Regions from separate parts of the Homo sapiens genome. Here region 1 is linked to region 2. The links are contacts of gene promoters, found by promoter capture Hi-C in blood cells and fetal thymus (Javierre and others, 2016). All regions are on one chromosome and are shown on one strand. The core of a region is centred on a gene start or on the middle of the fragment in contact, and the rest is flanking DNA. Distances in the headings are between cores, read along the strand shown. Region 1 has its middle 25 kb from the start of LINC03114. Region 2 holds the start of TBL1X (transducin beta like 1 X-linked).

The links. The method cuts DNA at HindIII sites, captures the fragments that hold promoters and counts their contacts. A CHiCAGO score of 5 or more calls a contact.
Region 1: a fragment that was not itself captured here is called in contact with the fragment with the promoter of TBL1X in region 2 in 12 of 17 cell types (non-activated CD4 T cells, M0 macrophages, activated CD4 T cells and 9 more); the score reaches 11.6 in non-activated CD4 T cells.

Annotation. Positions count from the first base shown.
Region 1 is chrX:8,949,944-8,953,860 of GRCh38, forward strand. No RefSeq gene overlaps it. Among named protein-coding and RNA genes, the nearest start is that of LINC03114, 25 kb to the left of the region's middle. The HindIII fragment of the contact is 3,453 bases long and covers 796-3,917 here.
Region 2 is chrX:9,463,495-9,467,288 of GRCh38, forward strand. TBL1X (transducin beta like 1 X-linked) reads left to right here and starts at 1,564. Exons shown (of 18, transcript NM_005647.4): 1 at 1,564-1,953. RefSeq lists enhancers at 164-992, 820-1,019 and silencers at 1,250-1,829, 1,950-2,089, 2,390-2,539. The HindIII fragment of the contact is 11,363 bases long and covers 1-3,794 here.

The DNA of each region.
Region 1 (3,917 bases), core at 1,272-3,771, 510 kb before region 2:
TATTTTTTATTTTTTTAAAGACAGAGACACTGAGAGAGGGATAAACAGACTGTTTTTCTTATTATGATAAGATACATATAAAATATGCCATTTTAGCCATTTTAATTGTACAATTCAGTGGCTTCATATTTTCACAATTGTGCAGTCATCAGCACTATATATTTCCATAACATTTTCATCACCCCAATCTTCAATCTCTTTTTATTAAGACGTTTTTTGGTGAAATATCAGGAACAGTAAAAACTTGCCACCGTAACCATTTTTAAGTGTACAGTTCGGTGTCATTAAGTACATTCACACTGTTGCACAGCCATCACCACCACTCATCCCCACAACTTGTTCATTATCCTAAGCTAAAACTGCACACACTGTATAATCACTCCCGGTCCCCTCCCCTCAGCCCCTGGCAATCAGGATTCCACTTTCTGCTTTTATGGACTCAACTACTCTAAGAACTTCATAAAAGTGGAATCATAACGTATTGTCCTTTTATGTCTGGCATATTTCACTTAGCACAATGTCCTCAGGGTTCATCCATGTACCATATATCAGAACATTCCCGTTTAAGGCTGAATAAGAGGTCATTGCATGTACATGTACATTTGTTTATCCATTCATCTGTTGACCCACATTTGAGTTATTTCCACCTTTTGGCTATTGTGAATAATGCTGCTATGAACATTGACATACAAGTACCTGAGTCCCAGTTTTCAATTCTTTGAGGTATATACCTGCAAGTAGGATCACGGGATTGTATGGCAATTTTATGTTTAGCTTTTTTAGCATCTCCACGTAAGCTTCATCCCTTTTTTCAATAATACAAAAGGTTGAAATCCTTGACCTATATTTCCATTATTATGTAATTTTAACAGATACCAAACCTGTAAGAATTTCCAGTGGAACATTTTAAAGAGCTTTTAAAAATATATACAGCCCCTGGGGTAGAACGGAATTAGAGTCAAATTCTCAGTTCCTGACTGACCAATACTCATTCCTTATGCCATTGTTGATAATTCAGTAAAACAATAGATGTGTCTTTATTCTTGTGAAATTGAAGTTTCTGAGACATCTTGTTCAACCTTCCTTCTTCTGGCGAAGTAGTCAGTTTTATACTACTATTTTGGGGGATATAATTGTGTGAAAAACTTCTTCTCTTGAGCATGAAAGCCCTGCCACACCCACACAGGAAGATGAGATGGGAGACAGACAAAACCTGTAGCATTTCTCCATTCTTTTAGCCCACACCTGCACTAAAATAACCTCCGTCAGATCCTCACCCGGAGCAGCTCTCTTTCTTTTTCCCCATGAAGCCTAACAAAGCATCCTGGATAACTGTGTACTTCCTGCCTCACAAATAAGAAGGGAATTATTTATCATCTGGCTAGACAGGTGCAGAATCTTAGAAGCCCTGATTCCTATTGAAATCCGGGGCCAGAGCACGACGTCAACCATGCCTCCCTGTCTGGGACCCACACCAATGGTGAGGTGAGCGGTGCTGGGAGTACACAGCCTGTCTAGTTCTTTCTCAAGATTGACATGTCAACTCCATGAAACTCGGCATTGCTCTCATAAACATCATCTCCTAAGCTCATCTTGGCATCAGATCTGTACGATGGCAGGAGTGCTGGGGAGGCTGGCACACCCATGCGAATTTGTTTGGAGCCGGGAGAGACCTGTCGGGGGCACTGGGTTATGCCTTAGATAGTAGGGCTTTGCTAACACCTGGGATATTGAGTCTGGAACTCCCATGGGACACAGCTGCCCTGGTCCCAACTTGGAATCAGATGCTTCCAAAGAGAATAAAGAAATGTCAGCTCCTTTCATTAAAATAGTCAAATCCACTGCATACAAACTGAATGCGGTTATAATGCTGGACAAAAACTTTTTCTTCCTTTTTTCCCCCTAATTTCAGGGGGAAAAATGCTTAGAGTTTTAGAAAGATTTTTTTTCAGAAATCTTTTGCCTTCAGAGGTGGAGGATTACTTTGTAACAGTCACACAGGAAAACTGTCCTTAGACACACAACACAATGGTTCTCAGATTTTAGATGGCCACCAATCCCGTTCTGTGTGCTGGTTTAAAATGCAGATTCTTAGGCTCCACCTCCAGAAGATTCTGATCCTTTAGGTTGGAGCACAGCCTAAGAATCTGTGTTTGTAGCCCACTCCAGGGCATTCTGATGGAGGTGGTATAATTGGTCTACTATTGCTGCTATAACAAATTACCACAAACCCAATGGCCTCCAACATCATGAATTTATTATCTCACAGTTTGGCAGGCCAGAAGTCTGATAAGAGCCTTGCTGCACTAAGATCAAGGTGTCAATAGGGCTGTTTTCCTTCTAGAGTGGAGAATCTGCTTTCAAGCCACCTGCATTCCTTGTCTGACGGCCCCTTCATCTGTCTTCAAAGCAGGCAGCCTTATCTCTCGGACCCTGCTTTCTTCCTCATATCTGTTTCTTTCTCTCTAACCTCAGTTGGGCAGGTTCTCTGATGTTAAGAATACTTTAAGATAACATCAGGCCCTCTAGATGATTCAAAATACTCTCATCCCAGGGTCTCTAATCTTACTTACATCTGCAAAAATCCCTTTTGTGGTCTAAAGCAACATATTCACAGGTTCTGGGCCGTAAGCGTCTTTCCAGGGCAAAGGATTGGGCATTATTCTGTCTACCACGGGGAATCTGCAGGCCAGATTTAGAAAAACCTGCAAGCGACAGCGTGTATTCCATTTTTCTGGTCGCCCACAGTACCCATAAACCAGTGGTTCTCCACTGGGGAAGAGGGGTAATTTTTTAGCCCCAGGAATATTTTGCAATGGCTAGAGGTATTTTAGGGTTGTTACAGCTGGGAAATGGGGGTTCTCCTGGCATAGAGTGAGTAGAGGCCAGGGCTGCTGCTGAACAGCCCACACAGCAGGGTGGCCCCCACCGTAAAAAAGAATTATCTGACCCAAATATCAATAGTACCCAATTTGGAAAACTCTGCCATTAGCAGAGATGAGGAATTAAGGACATATTAATAAGCAAATTTATTCCTTTATATTCATCAATAGCTTTGCTCTGTCTAACCTGCCATTACATTGACAGAGTTCTCTTTAAGTCAATCAGATCTATATTTACCATCTTAAAACTACAGGTTTACTTGGAGCTTTCTCATCTACACTACTCCCTTCAAATTCCATTCCTTTCGTAAGTTTTGAAACATTTTAAATACCATGTCAGATCAGTGCATTCGTTTGCTAGGGTTGCCTTTGGGGGACTTAACAGAAATTGTTCTCTTGCCATCCTGGATGCTGGAAGTCCGAGATCCAGGTGTGGGCAGGGCTGGTTCCTCCTGAGACCTCTCTCCTTGGCTTGGAGATGCCCTCTTTCGCTGTGTTCTCAAATGGTCATCCTTCTGTGTTTGTCTTTGTCCTAATCTCCTCTTCTTATAAGGACACCAGTCCTGTTGGATCAGGGCTCGCCCAAATGACTTTATTTTACCTTAATCATTTCTTTAAAAGCTCTATCTCCAAATACAGTCACATACTGAGGTCCTGGGGGTTAGGACTCCAACATCTGAATTTAGAGGAGCACAATTCAGCCCATAACAATACATGAAAATACCTTCTCTTTAAAACACAGAATTGGGAATGATTAAGATAATGATTATAAAAGACATTCAAAAATCTTAAGATACTAAATCAATATATAGAACTAAGCTGAGCATTTTTTTTTCTTAATAGTTTTGAAGAAAACAGTATACCTCTTACCTGTGAAGCTATGATACACATTCACAAACAAGCCAGGCTTCTTGATCACAAGGCACAAAAATTGAATCAATTTGCTAATTTTAAAGCCAGGCTAATAATTTCTACTCTTAACTTTTGATTTATTTGTTTCTTTGTTTGTTTTTGCTATAAAAGCACATAAGGAGA
Region 2 (3,794 bases), core at 314-2,813:
ATGATGGTGTAGCAACAGTCGTTTTGCATCATTGACGTTTTACAGCAATATTTTGCAGGGTAATTTTGAGGTCCGCCGTTTTGGTGGAGGACCGGCCTCTTAAAAACTCACCTCCGGCCGGGCACGGTGGCTCACGCCTGTAATCCCAGCACTTTGGGAGGCCGAGGCCGGCGGATTGCCTGAGGTCAGGAGTTCAGACCAGTCTGGCCAATATGGTGAAACCCCGTCTCTACTAAAAATACAAAAAAAATTAGCTGGGCGTGGTGGCATGCGCCTGTAATCCCAGCTACTCGGGAGGCTGAGGCAGGGGAATTGCTTGAACCAGGGTGGTGGAGGTTGCAATGAGCCGACAGCGCGCCACTGCACTCCAGCTTGGGCGACAGAGCGAGACTCCTCAGAAAAACAAAAACAAAAACAAAAAAACAAAAACCTCACCTTAGGTCCCCCTCCCCCTACAACCAGAACAACAAATGGTCTAGAGTTCGAGGAAGAGCAAGTGAGGTTATAGTTTAGATTGCTGAGTGTACCGGGCTCTTAGCACGAAGCTCATTATATAGTAAAGGAAGGGGCAAGAATATTTGAAAAATATTCAACGAGGCTGACCCCAGAGGTGCTGGGGAGGGGGAGTGGAGATCTGTTTAACTGAATTAAGGCTGCGAGTGGTTGGGAGTAGCCTACGTGGAGGGGAGGAAGGAGCGCTGGGGACTTAGGTACACCGGGGCCAGGCCGTGTAAGCCATTGCAACATAAAGCACTTTGCAAGGGCCAGAGGGCTGATGCCTGGGGGGTTGGGGTGGGAGTGATGAGGCCCGAGTGCCCAGGTCCCCCCAACCTCCTCAGCCCCCACACCCGAGTTCCTGGCGCCTATGCCTGTGTGTCTGAGTTTGTCCCTAAGCATTTCTGGCTCTTCTTGGGAGGTGTTTTGCAAAGGTCGAGGCTCCGCCGGAACCCCCACTTTTTGAGCTGGGGTAAAGACTACTGGGGTGTCTTCTAAGACGCCGATTTTGAGGGAGATTCACCATCGGGCAGGTGGCAGGGGGTTCTGTTGGGGCAGCCGGGTGGCTTCCTTTTTGGGGTGGGGGAGGGTAACACTTTAGCAGTGATCGAGGTTCCCCTGCCCCCTAGAAACTGAGGGGGTGGCCGAGGTTCCCGTCCCCTCGAGGCAGTCGTGGAAAGGCTGGGTTTGGGATGTGATGGGGGTAGCCCTGGGGTCCTCTCAGTCCCACGGAGGCCACGGGGAAGGGACCGGGACCAGAGCAACTAGGGAGAGGCCCGGGTTCCCCTCACCCACCCTAGGCGTGGGGGAGCGGGGCGGGCTTGGTAGGGACGCTGGTCCCCCGACCGTGGGACAGGGGCTGGGTTGGGACGCGGGTCCCCACTAGGAGCCGCGGGGGAGGGGCAGGGCCGGAGTCCCTACCCTCGTAGGGGAGGGGCTGGTTCGGGACGCGGCTCCCCCGGGGCGCAGGGGCGGGGCCGGGTGGTACGCCGGGTCCCCTCCCACGGCCGTGAGGGAGGGGCCGGCGGCGGGGGCGGACCCCTGGCGGTCCTCCTGGCTGGGGTCCGCGCGCTCGCGGCAGCTCCCCGTGGAGGTCACTGTCCGTGCCAGTCCCTCCCGCTGTCCCGCCCTCTCCCGCTGCCGCCGCCGCCGCCGCCGCGCCCGCCTCAGCGCCCCCACTCCGCGCTTGGGAGCGAGGAGCCGCCAGCGCCCCCGCCCCGCCGCCGCCGCAGCGCCCTCAGGCCGCCATTCGCCACCGAAACTTTCCAGCGCCCGCGCTCTCTCCGGGACTCGGCGGCGGCGGGGCGGGGGCGGCCCGGGGGCGGCGCGCGGCTGCTCCGGGGCGCCGGGCCCTCTTCGGCCGCCGCACGGCCGGGACTCGGAGGCTGCCGGCTGGAGGGAGGTTCGGAGCGCGGCCGGGCGCGCGGCGCCGCCACAAGTTGCGCTGCTCGCGACGAGGTGAGTGCGCAGGGCTCGGCGGGCCGGGCGCGGGGTCCGCAAACTTCTGCGGGGAGGCGGGTCCCGCGCTGACCCTCCAGGGTCCGGCCGGCGGCTCGGGGCGCCCGAACGCTCCACCCGCCCCTGGAACTCCTGTAGGTGCAGGTCGCCAACTGTCCCCGCGGCGCTCGGACTGGGGTGCGGCGCGCTCCCAGGAGCCTGAACAATACCCCGAGGTGGCCGCTCCCCGAAGTGCCGGCGCGCCTTGCGGGGAGAGACGGAGGTCGGCGGGGGGCTCCTTTGTTTTGGGGAGGGGGAAGTGGCCGGTAAGTTTAGGGAAGCGCTCGGCTTTTCCTCCGGTGCCCCTTTGTCTGCCGATTCAGGGGCTTGCTGGGCAAACCTGCGCCACCGCGGGCTCCGGGGACCGGGGTGGAGGGCGGTGGCGGGATTTCCCCGCTGTTGGGGAGAAGAGCCCCATTCATACCCGGGACGCGGGCCGGCCCTCCCGGACCCGGGTGGAAGCGCAGCCTCGCGGAGTGGGGCAAGCGGCGGGCGAGGTGGCGCGGGCCCCGTGTCTGCTCAGTTTCTGACGCGCAGAAACTGTCAAGGAAGTCGGGAGCCCCAGTCCTCCGCCCATCTCCCCGGCCTGAGCGCACGGCTGGGCTGGGGGCACCCTTGGCCCGTCGAGGGTCTGCAGAGCGCCGCCCGGGGAGAGCGCAGACCTGTTGCTGCTCCTGGGCTCTGACGGGGCGGGTGGGGTGGGTCTCGCAGATCCTGGGCCCCGGCCTTGCTATCCAGGGGGACCTTCCCTAACGATGGGACCGGTGCTCGGAGTGGAGTATGGGGAGTGCGCCTTCGGGAGTCGGCGCTGGCCGGATATGTGACAACTGTGGGTCGCTGGAGGCCCGCCTGCGCTGGGATAGGGCCTGGACTTCACGTGCGTCGCCTGTGTTCCGTCAGACCGGGGCCGGGGCTCGCTCCCTGCAAGGCCTCGTGTTCCCCCAGCCAGCTGCGTTGGACGTTCCACAAAGGTAGGGACTGACGTTTATTCTCGAGTCAGTGATGTTCTGGAGCAAAACCTAAAAAGAAACAAAAACCTACCCTCTATTGTATTTGCAACTGTTTCTGCTTTGCATTGTCATGTGTGGTTTGACCTGCCTTTTGGATGTTTTCCTCTCCTGAAACATCGCCCAGTCCCTGGTTTAACCTGGAAGGCGAGGGGGAAGGAAGGCAACCTCCCTGCTAAGGTTCCAGGCAGTGGCTTTGGTGTTGGAAGTGGCACTTGACGATTTTATGAAAAGTTTACAAGTCCTTCCTAGAAAAGATGTAATTAGGAAAAATAAAATACAGAAGAACGTTGAGTATGACGCGTTTATTTTAAAGGGTAGTCCTGTCTCAAATGTGCTGCACATTTTTGTGGAAAGCCACCAAGCTGGGTAACTAATGCAAACAACAAAAGTTGTTCATCACTGGATCACCGGCCCTTAAGGCGATTCCAGCCCTTAGTAGAACACACACCTGTAGGGCAAATATGGAGATTTGTGGTGTAGTGCTGCCACCCTCGCTCCCCAACTCTCAGGCATTTTGCCCCTTTACCTCAGAGAACTTCTCTCTGTCAGTGGTTTTAAAGAGGAAACAGTTTGCAAAAATAACTTTATTGTAGACATACTTAGAAGTGAATGTTTCAATTTCTGGAGTTTTCCCATCAATTATATCAGTACCACTGGTTCTGTACAACATCATCTTAGTTAGAAGATTTTTTTTCACCTTTTAAGGTGACGAACAGAGGCGGGAAAATGGTCCCTGCAGAGGGAGGCCATCTCCAGCAGGTCCCGAGGGTCAGGAATTCAGATTATCCGATC